Linked DNA regions of Homo sapiens: region 2 is linked to region 1. Evidence: promoter capture Hi-C in 16 types of primary human blood cells and fetal thymus (Javierre and others, 2016). All regions are on one chromosome and are shown on one strand. The core of a region is centred on a gene start or on the middle of the fragment in contact, and the rest is flanking DNA. Distances in the headings are between cores, read along the strand shown. Region 1 holds the start of TBCK (TBC1 domain containing kinase). Region 2 holds the start of METTL14 (methyltransferase 14, N6-adenosine-methyltransferase non-catalytic subunit).

Region 1 (6,319 bases), core at 2,939-5,438:
CTGGGTTTATAGTAGAGAACAAAAATAAACATGTTCTTTGAACTAACTAAGCTTTCAGACAAATGGGGGAAACACAGTTGAAGACATTTTTAAAATAATGTTACGCTTAGGGCACAGTGATAGTTTAACAACAATACTGCTTAAAGCTCAAACAAATCTTTTACCATTCAACCCAGTGCTCATTTCATTAATCTCTATGCTAATTACTCCCCTGTGATTTTTCAATTTTACATTGAGTATAAGTCAACCTTCAAAATTTTAAATCCTCAGAGTTTCTAATATGTATAAAGTTTCTCATAGATGATAATAACAACTACATATATTTGTAGAACATGCGCTATGGCTGGCTAAATGCTTTACACAAGTCAATTTCGAATACTGTAATAATCTCCATTATACAGAGAAGAAAACTTGAATTAAAATTAATTTGCCTCATGTAATACATAGTAAACGAGGATTGAAACTCAGGTCTGTCTGATGCTGCAGTTAGCTCTTTTAATGCTCTAGCTATAATTTCTCTAAAGGATATAATTACGAAGCATTTTCCAATATATTTAATGACAGAATCCTAACACAGGAACAGCTATTAACATTTATTTGAACTAGTATTCTCTAAAACAGTTTAGGAAATGCTAGTTTAAGTCTCTGGACTAAAATGTAAAAAAATTAAGACTGTGAGATTAAAATAGATATAAGAATGACATGCACAGTAATTGAAAATATAAAACATTTATGAAGAGAGAAGCACAGAAAACTGTAGACCAAGTATGTTAATTGTGTTTGGTGAGGATCAAGACCTTTTCTTTTTCCTTTACTAAATTAAAATGGTAATAATGCATTTTTTAGGACAAAAGCTTTTGAAACATATTATCTAAATCATTCTGTCCCTTCACATTAATTTTGTCCTTCTCAATGTTAATTATCATACTTCATCAAACCTAAAAAGCCATTAATCATACGATGCCTCTAATGCAGAATCCCAAATACTGTACATGAATTTATAGTACATCTTAATCATTAAAATACACACACAAAAGATGATTTTTGAGATTCTGAGATCTTCACTATCATTTTTGTTTACTGAGCAATTTCCTCAGTAGTCCTCCCCACCCACACCATCTAAATTGCCTGCAATCTTTTTGAAAAAGCAAAATCTCTGCCCCACGATGACAACATTGGGAATCAAACATAAGTAAGTTACTACTTTGAAATCAAAGTTTTACAGGCAGACTTTTAATTTTAGAATTCTTATGCTATATAGGAACGCTACACAAATTTGAAAGTGTCTCTACTCAAAACCTCTAATTTCCCTATTTCAGAATTACAGTAGGTAAAAATTTACATTTTTGTTGGAAGCTTTAAATACTATACAAGAAATCTAAAATGCCATCAATTGTAAAATGGCTTCAATCCCAAGAAGCTCTATTATTTTATGTACATTATGAAAAAAAACACTATTGAATCAACTGACCCAATGCTTTCTTATTACTTAGACACATCCTATATTATTTATTGACAGACTTCTTTTAAATTTAACCCTGGATTTTTATCTTGTATCACCCTTTGTTTCCCCACATACACAGTAACTTTTCATTCTAATGCTAATCATAATCTTCTAAATGATCTTTAAAAGGGAAATTACACTCAACAACTATATGCCAATAGTGCATATATAACTCAACTGAAATAATGACAAGATTAAGTTATGACTAAGTGGGTGTAAGTGTGGGCAATGACAAATATCTCACAACTGCCAATTCATCTACAGTGATTTAAAGATGTCAACAACTTAAAAATACATCCCTATTTCAGAGATGTTAAGTAAGAGAAAAATGTGTATCTCAGAATTGATGGAATATAGTAATTTTAATCATTTTCTTCCTTTCTTCTCCTCCCTTCATTCCTATTCTTGCCTTCCAACTTCTTTCCCTGATTTGCTACACAATCTAATTACTGGATATGTAAAAATATTATAGTATACATAAAATACCCCACACTGAAAGACCGTCCTTATTATAGTGTAAAGCAATGTGGTACCTTTTAGCACTAGGTGAAAATTCCTGCTAGGATTTAAATCATATGTGTCAAAAGTCAGAATTTAAAGAAGAAAATTAAATACACTGAGAACAATGCATCTGAAGACACTCAAAATATGTAAGCGCAGCAACCAGCAGTAATTCCCTAGGTCTTTTATCAACCTTTGCCAAAACCTATAAAAAGAATATCTAAAATTGCTTTTTTATGGAAGTTCCTATTTCCCTTACCAGACAGCCTGCTTTCCCTTTACTGATGAGGACATAGGGGGTCCTGGAGGGTTTAAAGGATGGCTATAAGGAATGACTATAGGGTGGACAGCTATGAGAGGCCAGTCCATGCATTTCTAAATACCATCGTCATTAACACAAAAACTTTCCTCCCCAGTACAGAGTCCATAAAATTTAAAAAGGAGTATGCCTTGGCCTCCCATGACCCTCTTACCTCACAATAAGGCCATCTTTTACCTGGTTAAGATTTGCAGACTAGACCCATTACATACCTTGTCATTAAATACCTATAATATACCCTAACCTTTGCAATCTTGACAGATGTGATTTCCATTTTATAGACAGATCCAGGAAAATTACATGACTTATCTGAATCCCTTCAAGTACCACATAGCAAAGCCATGATTTTAACTTGTGTTTGCCACTCTGAAACTCACACTGGAATTCATTTTTCAAGTGTCCTCCAAAGCCTAATTAAATAAAATTAACCCTGTCATCTATAATACTCTTACATATCCAAATTAAGTGCATCAAGAATATAACTGGCCATTTCTTACCACCCATAGTCAAACCACCATTATGCTTCCTCTGGATTATTGCAAAACTCTTCTTATTGGTCTCCTTTCTCCTACCACGTCCTCCTCTGTGTATTTTCCTTAAAGAGTGACCCTCTTAAAAGGAAGTCAGAGCCCATCACTCTACTGCTCAAAACGCTCCAAAGTCCTATTTCATTTAGAATAAAAGTTAGATGTCCTCAAGATCTTCATGACCTGCTCGCCTTGATTTAATCTCCAGTGAAGGACTAAACCCTTCACTCAACTCTGCCCTACAGGCCTCCTTGCTATTCTAGCACGTTTCTGCTTCATGACCTCTGCAATGGCTGGTCCCTCTGTCTGACTGCACTTTCCCAAGATATTCGCGTGGTTAAATCTCCCACTTCTGTCAGCCCTTTACTTAAAAGTCATCTTTTCAGCAAGACCTTCCTGTGTCACTTTATACCCTTCTTCCCTGCTTTACGTTTCTCTTCAGGACTATCACGACCTAAAATACAGTATGTTTCTAATTACTTTGCTTAGTATGTGCCTTCCTCTCTAAAATGTGAGCTACAAGTAGACACAGATTTCCGTCTGTTTTGTTCACTGCTGTTCACCTAATGCCTAGAACGGTGTCTGGAATAGAGTGGGCGCTTAATAACTATTCGCTCAATGAATAAATTCCTGTCTTCACCCTCCTCTCCCCCAAAGCACCTAAGTCCTTTGACACACACATTCACATAACAGTAAATACGCTTAGGGATCGATATTTTTCTGTAGCATTCTTAACTTAGGCCTGCATCCCATTTCTCAAACGTGGCTCCTTTAGAAGGAAGTCTCAAACTCTTTCCTGTTTCCTTAGGCCAGGGCTGGTCCTGCTGCGAACGGACTACCCATTAGCAGCGCAGGCCAGGTCCTCTCTCCTGGAGGCAAGTTAGAGAAGGAAGACCCCTACGATCGCAATCGGCGATCCCCGAGTGAGTGACCCGCCACGACGTCACTCACATGAAGCGGAGGACCACGGGTTCCGAGACAGCCACAGCAGGAAGCATGTAGGTCCAGCCACCCGCGTACTATAGCAGTGAGAAAGGACCCAATGAGGTGTCCTTGCTGAAAGCCTGAGTGTTCTACAGATTCAACCCTCAATTCTTTCTTCCTCTTCCTGTGCTCAGTCCCATTAACCTGCCATACCACGCTCCTCGTCTTCCATTCCCTCACCCAGTATTTTCAATCGACCCCCCCCGTCCCCCCGCACCTCTTTCTCTCTCGCTATATGTCCTTTCGTGGCCAGTTTGGGCAAGGGGAAGGACACCACAAGTCGGGGTCTTTCCTCAGCGTTGGGTCGCGGTGGCTGTGAGGGCGGAAGAAAAGGCCAGGCTGAGGGGAGGGTAGAGGGTGAAAAGCTCGGATCTGTGTTTGGGGAAGGCCAGGCTTGCGCTCCTCGCCGGGTTCCGCGAAGGTTAACCTTGGCTGACTTGGCTCGCGAGCAAAGGGCAGCGTCTGAGCTCCCGGCGTTCCAGGAGTGGCCTCTTTTGTAGGAGCACCTGAAATGCAGCGTCTGGTGCACTAAGCCGTAGCGGCAGCAGCAGCCACAGCGACAGCGCTGGGGCCCTGTGTAGAAGCTCCATCCCCCTTGTCTTTGTGCTTGCCTGCGTCCCCAGACTCAGAGGCAGGTATTTGGGTAATCCAGTTTTCCGTGTCGTAGTGGGTGGGGTCTGTGGGAGGTAGAGGACTATCAGGAGCAGTGAGTGGCCCCGCATGTCTTCAGAATAGATAGAGAACCGAGCTGTGGAGCCGCTTGCTGATAGGTACTGTCTCCATCCCTAGCTACAGCCCGCCTTTCCTGTAAATCAGGTTCACCTGAGTCGTTTGGGAACCGTAGGCTTAGTAATCGCTCTGTCACTGCCTCAAAGGAAGGCTAAAGGAGGTTAGAGAATCTAGAATCCGCCCCTCCATTACTCACCTTGGAGGCAGAATTTTGCTTTGGTTTGTTTCTGGCCCTCGAGGTTTAGTCAGTCGTCAAAGTGTAACACCCCCTTGAGCAGTAGGAGAAAGTGAAGCAGAGGAAGGAAGTTACTTGAGGATTGTCAGTGGCTGCTTTTCAAGGATCCCTGTCCTGGTTTCTATCTATTTGAGACAAAAATAACCTCTTGAGAGAATGTATATATAAAATAAATGAATTAGTATCATTTTCCTGTTGAAGAAATGTGAAATTTTATTCATGATAAAATCGGCGTCTTTTGCCCTATTTTTTACTTTCTTTCCCCATTCGAGTCGTTTAAAACTCTAAGTTCTTTGAGGGCACAGAGTCTGACTTGTTCATTATCCTTTGCCCACCAGCTGGAAAAACAACTGACTTAAAATAGGGGCTTCAAAATATTTGTTGAATGAATGAATTTTCAAGCCCAACTGCTTGCACTGCTGTTTCCCTCATCTAATCTCTCATCTCTACGTTTTTTTTCCCCCGGTAGTTTTCTTCCACTCACGAGGTGTAAGTGAATGTATGTGTGTGTATTTTTGTGTGTGAGCCTTTTTATGTACAACCATTTAAGAGGTAGTGGAAAAAGAACACTGATTATGCTAATTAGTGTTTTATCTTTTTCGATCATTGTGTTTTATTTGGTTATTTTATTTTCAGCTATGTGATGATAAAGACATCTGATTGAAAATAAAATGGTCGGGCGCGGTGGCTCACGCCTGTAGTCCTAGCACTTTGGGAGGTCGAGGCGGGTGGATCACCTGAGGTCAGGAGTTCAAGACCAGCCTGGCCAGGATGGTGAAACCCCGTCTCTACTAAAAATACAAAAATTAGCCGGGCGTGGTGGCGGGCGCCTGTAATCCCAGCCACTCTGGAGGCTGAGGCACAGAATCGCTTGAACCCGGGAGGTGGAAGGATGCAGTGAGCCGAGATCATGCCACTGCACTCCAGCCTTGATGACAGAGTGAGACTCTGTCTCAAAAAAAAAAAAAAAAAAAAAAAAAATCAAGTAGTATAGCGTAGTAGGATTGAATAATAAAGTGCAACTGTCTCACCTGTCCTACTCTCAGTACTGTTCTTCAAAGATAACCACTTTTAACCTTTTCTAATTTTAGGTCTGTAGGTTAAATAATAAGTTAAACTGTTAATTCTTTTTGTTGACTTCTTGAGATAGCCCTAAGTTGAACTGCTAATTCTTTTTCCGTTGACTTCTAGAAATAGCCCACACCATTCACAATCTCCTCTGAATTTTGGAAGAGTCATAATCATAATTTTTAGTTTTTGTATTGGTTACTTTATAATTCAAAATAATATACGTAAACTACTTTTTTCACATCAACTTTTGAAAATATATTTGACTCCTTGTTTGGTAAAACGAGAAAAGTAGTGATTCTACCTTTTTCTTTATCACTTCAGAAACTACATTTATGCCCACTTTCTCTTAGCTGGACATTTACTTGTACATTGTCAAAGTTAGTAATATATTTCTTAACTATAACATTTGCGCTTTATTCACGTGCCAAAAACCAATAAAAAAAATAAAA
Region 2 (6,756 bases), core at 3,422-5,921, about 12 Mb before region 1:
AATCTGATCCAATCAATTACCCAAAGTTTTGTGTTTTTTTTTTTTTTTTTTGAGACAGAGTCACTCTGTTGCCCAGGCTGGAGTGCAGTGGCATGGTCTCAGCTCACTGCAACCTCTGCCTCCCAGGTTCAAGCGATTCTCCTGCCTCAGCCACCTAAGTAGCTGGGATTACAGGCGTGTGCCACCATGCCCAGCTAATTTTTTGTATTTTTAGTAGAGACAGGGTTTCACCATGTTAGCCAGGAGGGTCTTAAACTCCTGACCTCAAGTGATCTGCACATCTTGACCTCCCAAAGTGCTGGGATTACAAGCGTGAGGCACCACACTGGGCCCAAGGTTTATGATACACTTATATCCTCAGTCATCTTTAAGAATATTATTGTCTACTGCTGGCCAGGCATGGTGGCTCACGCCTATAATCCCAGCACTTTGGGAGGCCGAGGCGGGTGGATCATGAGGTCAGGAGTTCGAGACGAGCCTGGCCAATATGGTGAAACCCTGTCTCTACTGAAAATACAAAAATAGCCGGGCGTCGTGGTGCGTGCTTGTAGTCCCAGCTACTTGGGAGGCCGAGACAGAAGAATAGCTTGAAACCAGGAGGCGGAAGTTGCACTGAGCTGAGATCACACCACTGCACTCCAGCCTGGGCGACAGAGTGAGACTCTGTCTCACAAAAAAAAAAAAAAAAAAAAAGAATATTATTACCTAGTTCTTACCAGACATTATGCTAAGTGCCTCATATATATAACCTCATTTAATCCACATAACTCTTGCATTAAGATAAGAAAACTGGCAGGGCACGGTGGCTCACACCTATAATCCCAGCACTTTGGGAGGCCAAGGCAGGTGGATCACCAGGTAAAGAGATCAAGACCATCCTGGCCAACATGGTGAAACCCTGTCTCTACTAAAAATACAAAAATTAGCTGGGCATGGTGGTGCACCAAGTCCCAGCTACTTGGGAGGCTGAGGCAGAAGAATCCCTTAGAATCCAGGAGGCGGAGGTTGCAGTGAGCCGAGATTGTGCCATTACACTCCAGCCTGGCGACAGAGCGAGACTCCGTCACAAAAAAAAAAAAAGGAAAAGAAAAGAAAAAGATAAGAAAACTGATATAATGGTCTTAATGTAACTGGTGATAACATATGCCACTGACAATTATTTTAGCACATCTTAAAATTAGGCTTTCCATCAAATTTGTTTTCCTGGATATGAATCTATCATTTGGATTTATGTTTTCTTTGACCATAAACTTATTTCACTCTCTACTTGCCTTATATTCTTCCATTTTGTCTTCATCTGTCTCTCCTTCATCCAGATACTTACGTTTTGCATTTGGAGCAGAGGTATCATAGGAAGCCCTGAAAAATAAACAGAAATATTACCCATAAATATATACAAGATGTATAAATGCATCTATTAATAATAATAAACAGGTTATAAAAACAGAACAAGACAAATTTTTCCTGATTAAAGAATATCTATCTACGCAGTTTATAAGTCATCCAAAAAGTCAAATAACCTGATTGATAATTCTGTGTTTCATTTTTATCAGAAAGCAACCAAATGAGAAAATAAGCTGCTATAAGGGATATATTGAAAATAAATTTATATAGTATGTATTATTTTAATCTGTTTTGAGCAAAACAGACGTACAAATTGAAAACTAGAATAGCGAAAAAATTTTGAAATGCTTTCTGAACTACCAAATAAATACCACTTTTAGGATAAAGTATATTTTCTTTTATAAAAATTTTTAGGCTGGGCATGGTGGGTCATGCCTGTAATCCCAGCACTTTGGGAGGCCAAGGCAGGCGGATCAAAAAGTCAAGAGATCGAGACCAGCCTGGCCAACATGATGAAACCCCATGTTTACTAAAAATACAAAAATTAGCTGGGGGTGGTGGCGCGCACCTGTAGTCCCAGCTACTGGGGAGGCTGAGGCAGGAGAATTGCTTCAACCCTGGAGGCGGAGGTTGCAGTGAGCCGAGATTGCGCCACTGCACTCAAGCCTGGTGACAGAGCGAGACTCTATTTCCAAAAAAATGTTTAAATATACTTGTTTATTTATAGTATATATGCTAATTCTTAGTCTAACATTCCATTTTCTAAGTACTTTACAAATGGGAACTTACTATCCTCAGAAAATAAATATTTTATAATTAATGAACTGACAATAAAAACCATTGTGTCTAAAATCATTATTTTGATGCTTTTCTTAATACACTGCATACCTACCTAGGGTTATTTATTAAAACAGTAATCCTTTCACATTTTTTTTTTTTTTTTGAGACGGAGTCTCACTCTGTCTCCCAGGCTGCAGTGCAGTGGCACAATCTTGGCTCAGCTCACTACAATCTCCGCCTCCCGGTTTCAAGCAATTCTACTGCCTAAGGCTCCCGAGTAGCGGGGATTACAGGAGCCCGCCACCATGTCTGGCTAATTTTTGTATTTTTAGTAGAGATGGGATTTCACCATGTTGGCCAGACTGGCCTCGAACTCCCGACTTCCTGGGCTCAAGTGATCCACCTGCCTCGGCACAGTGGCTCATATCTGTAATCTCAGCACTTTGGGAGGCCAAGGCAGGTGTACCACTTGAGCCCAGGAGTCAAGGCTGCAGTGAGCCATAATCATGCTACTGTACTCCAGCCTATCCAGCCTAAGCAACAGAGTGAAACCCTGTCTCAAAAAAAAAAAAAAAAAGAATTATCTGACTGACCTGCAAGTTTCTCTTGTTTCAGCAATTTCTCTCTGCTCATCTTTGCTATTTAACACGGCACCAATGCTGTCGGCACTTTCAGCTCCCAACTGAGAAAAGACAAAATCAGAAATTAGATTGCAATGCACTGGATAGCCTTTCTGGGCATTTGTAGCAGCATTTAATACATTAAATACTTAAAAAACAAAAACACCTTAATTCACACACACACACACACACACAAAACAATGAATTAATCAGCTTGCAAGACAAACTGGAAAAACTCTGGAAAAAAACCGCATTAATTAAGATGAGTTTGACAGCTGGCAAAACATTTTATGCTTTCAGTTATACAGCGGCTCCTTGATTTATGATGAGGTTATGTCCTGATAAACCCATTGTAAGTTGAAAGTAAATCTGTTTCAAAATAAACGTTGTAAGTGTGTTTTCAAGTTACAATATTTTCCACTTATGATGGGTTTATCAGAACACAACTCCACCGTAAGTCAATGAGCAGCCTGGATGCCTATCACTCTCAAACCATCATAAAGTCAATTGTTAAGTCAAATGATAGTAAGTCTGGAACCATCTGTATTTGAAAATAAGACACTTTAGCCAATTTCCTGTGAAGCAATACACACGATTTAATATAAAATGAGCATTCCAAATCTGAAAATCCAAAATCCAAAACGCTCCAAAATCTGGAACTTTTTGAGTACTGACATGACATTCAAAGGAAATGGTCACTGAAGCATTCCGATTTTGAGTTTTGGTATTTGGCATGCTCAACCAGTAAGTAATATGCAAATATTCCAAATCCTGAAAAAAATCTGAAATCCAAAACACTTCTGGCCCAAGCATTTCAGATAAGAGATATTCAACCTGCAATAGCAATAACTAAAAAAGGCAGATAAGACAGTGTTTGCACAGGGTTGTGGGTACCATGTTAAACATTTTGTAGGCATCAGCTTATATAACTTATTTATTCTATGCTCTAATAAAAATCGATCCAGTTTTACTCAAGCTAAGTCTTACTATTTATAGACACAAGGCTGAACTTTACTACCTTAAAATGGTAACATAAATTTTGTTTGGCAGTTTGGAAAATTTTGCAAAATACAAACAAATGTAAACAAATAATGGTTATAAGGCTGGCTAAGTAGAGTGCAACCAATTCATAAAAGACTTTAAAAGGTAGAGCCCCTGGCATCTGCTGAGTGTAAAACACTAAACAAATAATTGTCCTATGAATGTATATTGAGTCAAATAGAAGTTTGAATTCAATATTAAGGAGTAAAACGTCTTCTGTGGTAGCAACAAAGAGCTACTTAACATTTTTGAAGATAATACGATAAAAGAAGTTGGCGAAAAGAAGACTTAGAAAGGATACTTGATTTGCCCAAGATCGTAATGCCAGCGGGATAAGGAACAAAGGAACAAATCTGACTCCAAGTTTCCACGGTTTTAGCCATATTCCACAAATCTGTTCATCAGACCATAAAGAGGATAGGTTTCAGAAGTCCATTTACTAAAACCAAGTTTCATTACTGAAAAATAACTGCAAGATGACTAATTACACTCTATGAGCATTGCTCCTATCACTTTTACTGATCTGAATAGTAGAATGGAAAATACAGCCTCGATTTTAAGTAGAACTGTGCACAATCTGTATTTTCTGCATGTGCACTCTACTAATCAGCAAATGTTAACTTACTCATACACAAGAAAGAAGTGAAGGACAATGGTTTAGAAGACAAGCTTTGGGGAGACAAACCTAGGTTCTATTTCCCAGCAGAGAAGTGAGCGACCAGGAGTAAAATTCCTTAACGTATGGAGCCTTTTTCATTACTTGATAAGTGAAGGTAATAATACCTGTTTCAGGAGATTATTGTGACTAACACAGAGTAAGATTTCAAATATTAACTGTGGATGTGACAAGGATACTCTATATAAGATGCAGAATCTAAAATTTACACTCAGGCTACTTCCAGTGTTGTCTTCAGAAAGATGTCAAAGAAAATACTGTAAACGTATTTCATAATGAAACCACAATCTCAAGAATTTGGGGCTGACGACGAAGAAAAGAAAGAAATAGATGACCATTTAATAGTGAAGAGAAATGTAGGGGATAACATGACACTCATCCTGGCGTGAACATGCCAGACACTCGGTGGGAGTTCCACAAAGCTTAAAGGCTAATCCTGGCATTCGGTTTAGCACCACAAAGACCGCGGAAGGAACTGGAAAAACATTCGGGACACCGCGAAAATTGAGAACTACAAAGGCAGAACCAGGGATCAAGATCGCAGGACCAGAAAGGCCTTAACAGCGGCAGGTAGAGAAGGGACAGAAAAAGGCGGGGTGTGGAGGGAGGAGGCGGCCGCGCACTCGCATTCTCGATCCCTCCCACAGGGGACACCAGGGCCGCGGACCTGCTGCGCGAGGAGCTGTCGCCGTAACTTCTGCCGCTCCCGGATCTCCTGCAAGCGGCTATCCATGTTCCAACTCCGGCTTTTCACTATCCCGAGTACTTGTCAATCTCCAGTGAACTCTTATCCAACCTTTCTTCCGAGTCTGTGGAACAAAATTCACCGGGAGCTTACGAACAGAGTATCCTCATAGCTTTCCTCAGTAGAGACTTCCGGCGCGGCCGGAATTGGCTCGCTTGGCCCGGAAGTCCCGCCTCCTTCTGGACGCTTGCTATGTGACGCCACTTGGAAGGGACCCAGTAAGGGATCTGTTGCGCCACAGGGGTCTCCAGGGCCCTCGCAGGTTGGGGTGGTCTGAGCTAGTCTGAAGGAGGACAGTCAGCTGACTTCTCCTTTATCTCTCTTTCCCAGGATAGCAGGTTCCCTTGGTGTATTACAGTTTCTGAAGTGTTGATTCCCTTTTCAATTGATTCCACAGATGACAGTCCTGACGTTTAAAAAATTGCCAGATAACCTTTAATTTTTTTTTTTTTAACAGAACACAAACTTAAGCCAGATTGCCTAGGATTGAACCTTGGCCTCTCACTTCCTAGACGAGTGGCCTTGGCTAGTTAACCACCTTCGTGAGCCTCAGTTTTGTCATCTGTAAAATGGGAGTCATAAGTGTCTACCTCACAGAGCTGTGATTGAAAGGATAAATAGCACCTTGCACATAGCGGTGTAGAAGTGCTTGTTATTGTTAATATTTTATTTACCTTCACGCAGGTAACAGCCACAACATCTGCCCACTCTTCCCCACACCTTACTGTCCCTTGAAATGTTTCCCATTTTACTATAGTATGCATTTTTTGGCTTCTTCCCTTTAGGGAAATGAGTATGTGATAGTAAAGCGTGTCTTGGTTTATGTCCTAGGAGTCAGAAGCTAAGAGACTCCTTTTTGTGCTTGTACATTTGTCTTAACTGAAAATAACCCAAGGATAAGGAAACAAATAGCTTCCTGAAATTACTCGGATTGCGGGGGTGAGGGGTGAGGGCTGGGGGGTGGTGATTCTGTCTTCATAGGATGGCAGCAAAGGCCAAAGTCTTATTTGAGTTATTACCATTATTATTCACCACACTTGCCATCTTATTTCAAGCCTACAGTGGCGGAAGTGGAGTAAGACATCATGTTGCCTCAAGTTTAATTGGAAATCGCGGTAAGTACTTAACAAAATTAGTAATAAGTCTGTTCTTTCAGAGTAGATTTAATTTTCAGAAATAATATTAAGTCATCCAGATCAAAACCAGTTGAGTCAGGCTGGGCCAAAAGTGGGCAAGACTAGATTCTACTTAGTCATGCCCACTTTTATAGAAATAATTATAATGTATTTCCGAAGAACTAGGTCTGAAAGACAATTTTGAACAAGTAGTCCTAAACAATTCCTTGAGTAATGTCAGCACTACTTGGATACTGTAAAATATTTATGTCCATATGAGTTAAAGTGTATTTCTTTAAAAATCAGTTGTATTATCTGGCAATCATTTAAGTTGAATACTGATTTAAATTTTACCAATGGTGAGAATAGGCAATTATTCACTTAAATATCTGTTGATATTGATTGAGCATTTTATATGGCAAGCACTGTGATAGG

The links. The method cuts DNA at HindIII sites, captures the fragments that hold promoters and counts their contacts. A CHiCAGO score of 5 or more calls a contact.
Region 2: a contact is called between a fragment that was not itself captured here and the fragment with the promoter of TBCK in region 1, in 1 of 17 cell types (total CD8 T cells). The highest score is 7.8, in total CD8 T cells.

The regions. Positions count from the first base shown.
Region 1 is chr4:106,314,078-106,320,396 of GRCh38, reverse strand. It overlaps TBCK (TBC1 domain containing kinase), which reads left to right and starts at 4,188. Exons shown (of 26, transcript NM_001163435.3): 1 at 4,188-4,466. It overlaps AIMP1 (aminoacyl tRNA synthetase complex interacting multifunctional protein 1), which reads right to left and starts at 3,847. Exons shown (of 7, transcript NM_001142416.2): 1 at 3,803-3,847. RefSeq lists enhancers at 3,639-3,888, 4,379-4,438, 4,519-4,608. The HindIII fragment of the contact is 5,300 bases long and covers 1,359-6,319 here.
Region 2 is chr4:118,683,973-118,690,728 of GRCh38, reverse strand. METTL14 (methyltransferase 14, N6-adenosine-methyltransferase non-catalytic subunit) reads right to left here and starts at 5,337. Exons shown (of 11, transcript NM_020961.4): 1 at 5,129-5,337; 2 at 2,718-2,806; 3 at 1,272-1,359. The coding sequence starts at 5,194. METTL14-DT (METTL14 divergent transcript) reads left to right here and starts at 5,388. Exons shown (of 7, transcript NR_125930.1): 1 at 5,388-5,424; 2 at 6,262-6,321. RefSeq lists enhancers at 4,799-4,938, 5,119-5,378. The HindIII fragment of the contact is 429 bases long and covers 4,457-4,885 here.